Regions from separate parts of the Homo sapiens genome. Here region 1 is linked to region 2. Evidence: promoter capture Hi-C in 16 types of primary human blood cells and fetal thymus (Javierre and others, 2016). All regions are on one chromosome and are shown on one strand. Each heading gives the region's core, a stretch centred on a gene start or on the middle of the fragment in contact. The rest is flanking DNA. Distances are from core to core; before and after follow the strand shown. Region 1 overlaps SLC31A1 (solute carrier family 31 member 1). Region 2 holds the start of ALAD (aminolevulinate dehydratase).

Region 1 (5,500 bases), core at 502-3,001, 140 kb after region 2:
AGTAGAGACGGGGTTTCCCCATGTTGGCCAGACTGGTCTCGAACTCCTGTCCTCAGGTGATCCAGCCTGCCTTGGCCCCCCAAAGTGCTGGGATTACAGGCATGGGCCACTGTGTCCGGCCCTGGACCTTATTTTCTAATGTTAAGTTTGAGTTCTGGGTTTAGTTGGGCAAGAATTTCCCTCAGCTGCCATCAATCCTGGCTGAAGTTAACCCCTTTCCATCACTGACCCAGGGGAAAAAACCACCAAATTTACTTACTATCTGTTAAAAATTCAAAAAGGAAGCAGATGATCAAGTCATTGAACAAAAAGCTACATGGATTAGACAAGAACATATAACTTGGCTCTAAGATGATGGAGAAGGAAAAGACATCTCATGGGTGGCTTCTCCTTAAGAGAAATGGGAATCTCAGCTTATTAGAAAAAACAATTTGGGAGGTTACTACTTTAGTTCAGAGACTGTAAACTAAACCTCTGTTGAGCAGGGGTGTGTGTGTGTGTGTGTGTGTGTGTGTGTGTACGTGCACAAAGAGGAGCAAGAAGGGATGATTGGAGCAGGAATCACGTCTTCAAGTCTTCAACAACTTCCCACTGCAATCGATAAGGCCACGCCATAGAGTTTGATGTCAATGGCAATGCTCTGTGATATCCACTACCACTGCCTTCTTCCAGCTGAAGAGGAAGTATCCTGTACCGGCCCCTGCTGCTACTGCAATGCAGAGGTACCCGTTGTAGGTCATGAAGATGAGCATGAGGAAGTAGCTTATGACCACCTGGATGATGTGCAGCACTGTTTGCAGGAGGTGAGGAAAGCTCAGCATCTGTTGCCTGGAGAGTAAACAGGGACACAACAATCAGGGACTCCTAGGAGTTCTGCAGATCAGGAGAAAGAGGGAAGAGTTCTTGCCATGAGCTCAGCTGGAACTGGACAGCCACTCTGGCAACTCATGGGTACTTGAATGTTCTTTGATTGGTCCATGGAAATGAAACAGCACAGGGCTGTCAGGCTTATAAACATTGGCCAGATATGGCTGTGGTTCCTCCAGTAGAAGGAACCCTTTTCCGGAGGAGGAGAAAAGGACGAGGAGTAATCCCGACTTACCTCCACCTTAGATCCTGAAAGGGAAGCCGTAAACCCTCTCACGCTCATCTGCCCGAATATTTTTAGGCTTCCCACCTTTGCAAAGTTTACATTCTACAAAAACAGAAACAGAGGCTGGGGGTGGTGGCTAATGCCTTTAATCCCAGCACTTTGGGAGGCCGAGGTGGGCTGATTGCTTGAGCTCAGGAGTTTCAGACCAGCCTGGGCAACATGGCGAAACCTTGTCTCTACAAAAAATAAAAAAAATTAGCTGGGTGTGGTGGCTCATGCCTGTAGTTCCAGCTACTTAGGAGGCTGAGGTGGGAGGATCACTTGAGTCTGGAAGGCAGAGATTGCAGTGAGCCAAGATAGTGCCACTGCACTTCAGCCTGGGCAATAGAGGGAGACCCTGTCTCCAGAAAAAAAAAAAAAAAAGAAAGAAAAAAAGAAAAAAAAATAGAATTGAGGGTTGGGTAGTATAGAAGAAATTACTTAATTAGGGATAAGGAGACCTGGCTACTCATCCCCTGTGCCACCTTAGGTAGGTCACAATCCTTCTGGGCCCCAGTAAGCTCATCAGTACAATAAATAACACTGCTTGTTTGAAAGCAGGATATCAGTCTATAGGATTTCTTAAGGTCCAATTTGGTTTTAAGACTTACATTTTTATTAAAACAATCTCAAAAAACATTTGCCAATCTATGGGAAAAACCAATAATCATCCAAATACTTTCTTAGACAGAACACAGAAATCAATACAGTCTTACATTGTAAAGAAAAAGAGGACAGGGCTGACTAGGTGTAACTTTATAGAATCAACTGCAATCTGCCATTCTTTTATATCTTGATCTGAATTTCTTAACTTGTTCATTATTATTTTGGTAAATATTTTAAAATATGGATTCCTCACTTCCCTTCTTCCAAAGTGGCCAATCCGTACAACTCAGAACAAACATTCATATTTGCAGAAGACTCCCTCTCATTCCTCCTTTGGCCTGCTCATGACCTACAAACCCAAACCTCCAAGGACAGTTTTGATCAAGGTCATACAGAACTCCTAACTCAAGAAGAGGGCTGCTGCTGATCACACAGCTGCGCTTTGCTGCTTAACTGATCGAGTTCTTTAGGACTTCATCTGGATCTGTTCAGTTCTTACCCAACAGTTTTGTGTGTCTCCATAAGGATGGTTCCATTTGGTCCTGGGACAGGCATGGAATTGTAGCGAATGCTGACTTGTGACTTACGCAGCAGGCTCTCTCGGGCTATCTTGAGTCCTTCATAGAACATTGCTAGTAAAAACACTGCCACAAAAGCTCCAGCCATTTCTAAGTATGGAAGGAAAATATGGAGGTACTGTCAAACATGTGCAAAATCATTAGCCAATGTGCTGTCCAGCTAGAAAGACACATAGAAAAAATGCTACTCTCAGCTTTTGAAGACATTATATTTTTACCTCTTCTCTTGCTCAGATAGGAGAACGGCTAAGATGGTGTAACTGAAAACTATTGCCTCTGCCAAGAACATATTTACTTTCTGATTAAGATAAGAAAAATAATCAGAACAACAATAACCTTTTGGTCAGACTGCTTGATATCATTAAATTAGGTTTGTTACACTGAAACACACAATGTAGAATATGGAACAGGGAATAAAACAATTTAGTTTCATCAGTGGCTGACTACATTTCCTGAATAGGCATTTCAATTCTAAGTCTTTCACACTGTGAAGTGTTGGTAATGATATAAATGTATTCAAACTGCTAATTTAACACATTACCTGAACTAAATGCTCTCCTTCTTCCCAAAACAAATTGATTTTATGGCTCCAAACAGACATCTGGTACCTAAGGCAGTCCAACTGACTATTGAGTTTGCGCAAGTTAAATTTAAAGTATACCATACAACATAATAGACACAAACAGATGGGTAATCATCTACCTCAAAACTAGGAGTGTCTAAGATGGGCCGTGCCAAGAATCAGGAAGGATGTGGGCCATAGTTTGGTAGACTAAAAGAACACTGGTCTAGGTAGCTCTAGAAGGTCTGGGTCCTTGTCCTAGCTCTGACATATTAACTCTATGATTGATGGCGAGTCATTTCACAATTTGTGGCACTTAATTTATTGTAAAATTGAAGTATTAGAACAATAGTTTTAAACTTATTTTGTGGTACTTAATTTGAGTTAGTCTTATGTCCAGGACTAATAACTTATCAAATAAGTAAACACTCTGAGGCCGGGCATGGTGGCTCATGCCTGTAATCCCAGCACTTTGGGAGGCTGAGGTGGGTGGATCACTTGAGGTGAGGAGTTCGAGACCAGCCTGGCAAACATGGCAAAACCCCGTCTCTATTAAAAATACAAAAATTAGCCAGGCATGGCGGTAGGTGCCTGTTTAACTCCAGCTACTCAGGAGGCTGAGGCAGGAGAATCGCTTGAACCTGGGAGGCAGAGATTGCAGTGAGCCAAGATAGCTGCCATTGCACTCCAGCCTGGGTGACAAGAGTGAAACTCCGTCTCAAAAAAAAAAAAAAAAAAAAAAATTAAACACTCTGGAAAAGAATGAAAGAAAATGGATTGCAAAAGATTCTATCTGGTATCTAAATTATTTTTTAGAGCTCCAAAACATACATGTTAGTTAACAGAGGTTTACCAGAGGACCAAAAAAGTACTGTGTTTCCTACCTTCTAGGTAGGAAATAGGAACCAAGATGGTTATGCATCATTACCATGTTGACTTAGTAATTAGGACAGAAAGAGGTGCTGGACTTCCAAATTATTTGTCACTGTCTCTCATGTGACTATCACCTTCCAACACTACCTAATGGCTTACTCACCTCCAGCTGTATTGATCACCAAACCGGAAAACAGTAGTTCCACATTCTTAAAGCCAAAGTAGAAGGTCATAGGCTGCCAGAAAACCAAAACAAGTCAGTTAGAGATGAATGAAAATTCTAAATGAGAATTTGGGGCAAAGAAGCTTAGAACATTTAAAAGTAGAAGATCTGGATAATAAGAGACATTCACGTGAGTGGGAGGCTTTTGCCCTCATGTTAGCGTTACCACCACAGGCACCGAGCATGAGTATTCTACTAGGCCCCCACCATCAACTTTTCTCCTGGGCCCCCACCATCAACTTTTATCTTTTTTTTTTTTTTTTTTGATACGGATTCTCGCTCTGTAGCCCAGGCTGGAATGCAGTGGCGAGATCTCGGCTCACTACAACCTCCACCTCCTGGGTTCAAGCGATTCTCCTGCCTCAGCCTCCCAAGTAGCTGGGACTACAGGCGAATGCCATCATGCCCAGCTAATTTTTTGTATTTTTAGTAGAGATGGGGTTTCACCGTGTTAGCTAGGATGGTCTCGATCTCCTGACCTTGTGATCCACCTGCCTTGGCCTCCCAAAGTGTTGGGATTACAGGCATGAGCCACTGTGCCTGGCCAACTTTTGTCTTTTTCTCTTTTCCACCCAAGGCATAAAGACCAGAACCCCTAATTCAGAAAAGAGTCGATTTCAGAAGGGACCACCAAAGAAAGAAGCCTAAAATCTTGGTTCTGGTGTGACTCTGTAAGTAGCTTGCCACATAATCTGGAGCAAATGACTTGACTTGCTTGGGTCTGCTTTAGTTATCCTCACTGGTAAACTGACCTTTAAAGATAATAAGCTTCCAGTACTAAAATTCCATTATTTCTATTACCCAAGTGGGTGGGAAAGGGCCTGCATTGCCCCTCCTATGGCACTCACCATCATCATCATGCTGCTGTCTCCTCCACCATGGGAGTGTGAGGCTGAAGTGGTTGGGTGATGGTGAGAAGGTTGCATGGTACTGTTGGAGTCCATATAGCTCATCCCCATATGGTGGGAATGATCCATTTTTTCCAGGAAAAGTTGAGAGTCAGCAGAAGATTCTTTTAAGAGAAAGAATTATATATAATAATTTAAGGATATAAAAATCTTATCTCTTTTTTTTATTTTTAGAGATGGAATCTTGCTATGTTGCCCAGGCTGGAATGCAATGGCTATTCACAGGCATGATCCCACTACTGATCAGTACAGGAGTTTTGACCTGCTCCATTTCTGATCTAGGCTGGTTCACCAGGCAACCTGGTGGTTCCCTGCTCCTGGGCTTGTTTCTTGGTAAATACTTTGTCTATATGGAATGCATCTAATAAATGAATGCTCTCCTAGCATCTTTACTCAGAATTATTTTTCATAATCTACAGATGGAGAGAGAAAGAACTCGTGCTAATAGGGATCACTTTTGGAGACTGTAGCAGAAAGGGTTTACACGTAGGGCTACAGATGCCTAACCCTTCCTTATTCTGCAGAATTGTTCCTTTTTTTTTGAGACAGGGTCTTGCTCCATCACCCAGGCTGGAGTGCAACTCACCACAGCCTCAACCTCAGCCTCCTGAGTAGGTG
Region 2 (5,907 bases), core at 628-3,127:
TGCTTGATTGTGTAGTTAATATAAATGAAATCATATTATATACTATTTTGTGTCTCACTTCTTTTACTCAACAATATGTTTAAGATTTATTCATATTATTGCATTCACAATACTGAAAGATTAAGGTAAAATGTTTCAAAAGGTGGAGGCTGGGGGGAGAGTGGGAACAGGTCTTTCAGTCAAGAAGAAGAAAAGACATGGGGGAAATAAGCTACACCAAACAGCAACATTTTAAAATTTCCCGTTCTATTTGGGTTCTTAGATGGTTCTAATTATTTTTAGTTACCAATAACCTCAGGGAAGGAATGAGTGTCAGGAAAGAAATGTCGGGCAGGGAATCTAGGAAAAAACAAATAATAATTGCCCCTATGGAGTGTGGTTATTAGCAGGCATTGCAGAGAGAGCCCAGTGTAACATGGGGCAAATTATTTAATCTAGCTGGCAATTGTTTTCCCAATCCGTAAAGTGAGAATAGTAACATCGTTGCTGTCAAGATTAGATAAATGAATGTAAAATGCATGGTACTGTCCCTGACTCTTTAATGCACAGCAAACATTATTTGCTTTCTATCCCCTTCCTTGTTGAATACAGATCAGAACTCCAGTAGCTGGAAACTAAGCAGTGTCATATTTCCCTAGCCTTACGCCGCTAGGCCCCTTAAATTTAAAATATAAAGTATACAACAGGTTTGGGGTACAGATTTTGAGAAATTTAAAAAAAAATTTTTTTTTGAGACAGAGTCTCCCTCTGTCACCCAGGCTGGAATGCAGTGGCATGATCTCAGCCCATTACAACCTCCGCCTCCCGGGTTCAAGCGATTCTCCTGCCTCAGCCTCCCGAGTAGCTGGGATTACAGGAGCCCGCCACCACGCCCGGCTAATTTTTTGTATTTTTAGTAGAGACAGGGTTTCACCATGTTGGTCAGGCTGGTCTTGAACTCCTGACCTCAAGAGATCCGCCCGCCTTGGCCTCCCAAAGTGCTGGGATTACAGGCGTGAGCCACCGAACCGGGCTGAGAAATAAAATCTGAGAATAAGTGTAATGTAACCCACTAGTGTCCTCTACATTTGAAAGTCAACTTTTCAATAATCCCTGAAGAACCACCTGAAAGGCATTGCTTCGCTAGGGCGATGATGCCCGATCGCCATTTTACTCATCCAATCCTACTGGTTTACCCAGGCCCCATAAGCCTCACCAGATCCCTCTTGCCTCTGCACATCTCCAATCTCCATAAAGACCTTTGATCGGATCTATCATTGTACCTATCATAGGTCTGATGCCCCTATCAAGACTTGGAGTTTTCCTAAACGCCCATGTCTTTCACATCACATCTCTCAACTCATAGCATTGCCGTACCCTGAGAAATAAATGAAGCTGGTACAAATTTTCTCTGAAAACTTGGAAGCCTGGCGCTGAACTCAACAACTTTAGCTTAGTCCGCAAAAATGGACTTAGCTAATACTGTGTTAGGCATAATGGTGCTGTTTTAACGGCTTTGACATCCAATTATTCTTTCACCAAGCCATTAACCAGAGCCAAGTTTGCCCTAGGCTGGGCAAAGGAATGCTGTGAAGTGAAACCTGGGCTGTAACCGCCTCCGAGGCCGGCTCACACCCAGGGACCCTCCCAAGCGGTTCCTGCGCCCCCTCGTGGCCTCCCTCCTGCAGTTCGCTGCACAAGCGCAGGGCCCGGAGCGGGGACGGGCGGGCCCTCCAGGCCCTCGACACACCCAATTGGCCAGGCCTCGTTGCGTGTGGGCGGGGCCGCGGCTGGAGCGGAGGAGCCCCCCAGAAGACCGCCTTCAGGGGGCGTGGCCTGGACTGTGGAGGGGGCGGACCGTGGGGAAGCTGCTTCCGGGTGAGCCCCCCCCGCTCTTACGCGGTCTGTGGGAGACCGGAGCGGGAGACAGCGGTGACAGGAGCAGCGGCCGGGAGCCCTTAGGGAGGCAGGTGAGCGGGGGCTGGATGCGGGGAGATAGCGGGCCTGGAGGGCGGCTCCAGGGCGAGGCGGGGACTGTGGCACCAAGAGTCCTGCGTCCCCAGATTGTGCTGTGCGCCTGAAGCCCTGGCGGTGCAGCCGTGCACGGAGTCCCGTGGAGCGTTTGTTTGGGCTGGATTATCCCGCTGCAGCCGAGGTTGGGGGCCCGGGTTCGGGGCTCCGCACCTCTTCTCTGGGGTTCACCCTCTCGGATACCGCCTGGGCAGACTCCATCGATGCAGAACCCGAGGTGCGGGTGGTGGTTGGTGGGGGGGTAGGGAGGTGAAAACAATAACAGCCGTTTTGTACTAAGCGTTGCGTGCATTGACCATTCATTTATTTTATTTATTTATTTATTTTTGAGACGGAGTTTCGCTCTTGTTGCCCAGGCTGGAGTGCAATGGCGCGATCTCAGCTCACTGCAACCTCCGCCTCCCGGGTTCAAGCGATTCTCCTGCCTCAGCCTGCCAACTAGCTGGGATTACAGGCGTGTGCCACCACGCCTGCTAATTTTTGTATTTTTAGTAGAGATGGGGTTTCTCCCTGTTGGTCAGGCTAGTCTCGAACTCCCGAGCTCAGGTGATTCGCCCACCTCGGCCTCCCAAAGTGCTGGGATTACAGGCGTGAGCCACCACGCCCGGCCTGACCCATTCATTTCTTACAACAACCCATTGAGGTCGGTTCTAGTCCCCATTTACTAAACGAAGAAACTGAGGTCACACAACTAGAAAGCTACAGAACTAGGATTTGTACCCACATCTATCAGACTCCAGAGCCCACATACTTAACCATCCTGCTACCAACAGCAGCCAGGCCCAGAGTCTGGCTCACCCAAAGCTCTCCACAAGCCCAACCTGCTGGGAAACAGATTTGATATCTATCCTTAAAGTATGGAGGTGTCATGGTGGGCACTGAGGACTGGGCTGCTGGAGACCTTCCCCCAGATCTGCCGCTGACCCACTGCGTGATCCTGGGCCTGTGTCTACCCCTCTCTGAGCCCAGTTTCACCCTTGTTTCAGTGATACAATCAGCAAACTTTAAGAAGACTCTTAGCCAAGATATTCTAGGATTCTGGGAATGGCAGCTTCTCCTACGTCTAAATGGCTAACCCCAGAGGCGATCAGGCTCTTCAAAGCCCCAGGGCAAGGCTGGGGTCTCATTCTTCTCTTTAATCCCTGTGTCTAGCACTTCAGCAGGCCCATAGTAGATATTCAAGAAATGTGGGTTGGCTGAATAAACACTTCATCTCTTTTCAGAACTGCATGACAGCTGCTCTCCTGGGCCTTTGTGGGGCTTTGGATTTCTCAGTTCTGGCCACCTTCTATCTAGCTGGCTCTCCTGACTGCCTCCTCCCTGGCCAGTGGCAGAGCCTGCCAGGGCTGGCAGCAGGTCCTAAGCCTCTGTGCGAAGACCCACAGCCTCTGGAATCCTCAGCATAGTACAACTTGCAGGGGTGGGGGGTGGCACATGAAGCTCATAGCCCCTCCTGGTAGCAGTGCTCAGGGCCCAACTTCAGTTACTCCCAGTTTGGGGATGTTGCCTTCCATGGGAGGAGATACTTTCATATTAAATCTGAAACACTTCTTATCCTTCACTGTCCCCTCTTCCATGAAACCACCCTTGACTCAGAGACACAGTCCCTCTGACAGCACCTGGTCCACCCCTCTACTCTGGCAGCCCGGTGGTGATTATTTTGTTTTTCCTCCACCACATAACCTGCTGGAAGGCAGGGACTCCACTTCAGAAATCTTGGAAAACCCTGTGGCCCACAAGGGTTTGAGCTCATATTCCCATCTGGTGAGGTGCAGAAGGCACAGAGCTGTGCCAGGACATCTCGTTCCAACCCAGCCCCACTCCTAATAGTAATAAAAGTAGCTACATGTTTACTGTGCAGCTACTTGGTGCCAGACACCTACCTTATCCCTATCAATAATCTCCACAGCCTTGCAAGTTAGAGATATCATGCCTATTTTGTAGATTATGAAATGAACACTGAAAGGTCAATTACTTTGCCCAAAATTACACAGCAGAGCATAGACCAAACCTGGGACTGTCTGACCCTGAAACATGGATCTTTCTGCACCGCCCTATACTCTGCGTCCCAGCAAAGCTAACCTGTCTGATGTGGTTGGGCAGAGGTGCTGGACCTCCTGGCGGCTCGCTCCTGTCTTCAGTGTGGTAATGTCACAGGCATTTAAATTGTGGTTTGCAAGCTCGCTTGATTTGGGAGAAGTGCCCTCCCAGTCTGTGAAATTCTCCCAAACTCTAAGGGCCTTTTTGCAAAGCAAAACCCACCCTGCATTTGGCTCTGCCAATATGTGATTCAGGGGGTGTTTTCCCACTCACAGAATGGAGTGGGAAACTCCACTTATTAAGTACCTCTTACAATGGAATGACTCTATGGTGTAGGTATCAGGGCACTGAAATAGAAGCCAGGAGCTGCAGGGTCAGTTTATAGCTCTGTATGTCACTCACTGTGATCTCCAAAAGTCCCGTTGCCTCTTTATACCCCATTTTCCACATTAAAGTGTAAGGGATTAAACAGGATTGGCAATTTTCAAGCTTTTAATATTTTCAGCACTGACAGCCGTTTCTCAAATCAAATCTGTCTCTGAATCTTAAAATTCAAAAACAGATCAAAGTGGACTGCTGTAGTGAGACTGTTCCCTTTACTCTAACCCTGCCCCGGTCTCAGGCTCCTAGGCAGTCCTGCCCCAGGGTTTCTGCTAAGCAGGAGCCAGTTGTTCCCTCAGCCTCCTAAAAGCGATGGGGAGTTGAGGCCAGTGGAATGCAGCTTTGGATTCAGAAGCCAGAAAACAACAGAGATTGTTTGTGGGAAGTGAGTCAGAGAGATTAGACCTCTCTTCAACATCTGACTAGACTCTAGAATGGCATTAAGCAAGTCACTGAACCGCTCAGAGCCTCTGTTTCCTTATCACTAAAAGTTAGGACAATTCTTGCAATGAAATGAGATACTACTACCAAGTACTTCAGTGCTGTGCCCAGCACAGAACGAATACACTCAGTATGTTTTTCTTTTGTTTCTTCTGTCTCTCCAGCACCCAAAGCAGAAACAGTATGGGCAGAGAGACGCCTACTGAATCAGGTGTTTATCAGTATTATGAAATACAGTATATAAAACCCAGCATTTGGAGTCCAGAACAAATTCAAATTCTGGCTCAGTCACTAAGTAGCTATGTGGTCTTGGGCAACTGGCTTACATTTTGGTAATTCTCTCAATATGCAAAAATATTCTCTCGGCCAGGTGCGGTGGCTCACGCCTGTAATCCCAGCACTTTGGGAGGCAGAGGCGGGCGGATCACTTGAAGTCAGGAGTTTGAGACCAGCCTGGCCAACATGGCGAAACCCTGTCTCTACTAAAAATACAAAAATTAGCCAAGCATGGTCATGCATGCCTGTAGTCCCATCTATTTGGGAGGCTGAGGCAGGAGAATCACTTGAACCCAGGAGGTGGAGGTTGCAGTGAGCCGAGATCGAACCACTGCACTCCAGCTTGGGTGACAGAGCCAGACTCTGTCTCAAAAAAAAAAAAAAAAAAAAAAGAAAAGGAAAAAAAACTCCTGGCAGACATGAGAGCAAAATCGAGTACGAAATGGGCAGCTGGGACCTCATATCTACTGAATAATTGTCTGTTTGGAGGTTGAGACATGACTGGGGAGGCCTGGCCTGCCCCTGTGTTAGGTGATGGGGCTGGCCCACCCAGGGGTGTGGCAGCAGGGCTGGCCCCTGTGTGACTTGTGATAACCCCACCCTACCAAGGAGGAAGACTGGATAAAATGGGCCCCTGAGATGGCTGAAGGCAGCTAAAGGGGCCTAAGAGACTATGGGGAGAAGGGCAGCCAGTTCCTAGGCAGCCCTGCCCCACTGTTTCTGATAAGCAGGAGGCAGTTGTTCCCTCAGCCTCCTGAA

The links. The method cuts DNA at HindIII sites, captures the fragments that hold promoters and counts their contacts. A CHiCAGO score of 5 or more calls a contact.
Region 1: a fragment that was not itself captured here is called in contact with the fragment with the promoter of ALAD in region 2 in 2 of 17 cell types (erythroblasts and M2 macrophages); the score reaches 6.0 in erythroblasts.

Annotation. Positions count from the first base shown.
Region 1 is chr9:113,255,600-113,261,099 of GRCh38, reverse strand. It overlaps SLC31A1 (solute carrier family 31 member 1), which reads right to left. Exons shown (of 5, transcript NM_001859.4): 2 at 4,823-4,986; 3 at 3,915-3,987; 4 at 2,238-2,406; 5 at 1-828. The coding sequence starts at 4,951. The coding sequence ends at 627. It overlaps LOC107987119 (a long non-coding RNA gene), which reads left to right and starts at 4,497. Exons shown (of 3, transcript XR_007061737.1): 1 at 4,497-4,645. The HindIII fragment of the contact is 4,617 bases long and covers 1-4,059 here.
Region 2 is chr9:113,397,254-113,403,160 of GRCh38, reverse strand. It overlaps ALAD (aminolevulinate dehydratase), which reads left to right and starts at 1,877. Exons shown (of 12, transcript NM_000031.6): 1 at 1,877-1,949. RefSeq lists silencers at 1,566-1,925, 2,076-2,125 and an enhancer at 2,141-2,721. The HindIII fragment of the contact is 5,410 bases long and covers 1-4,541 here.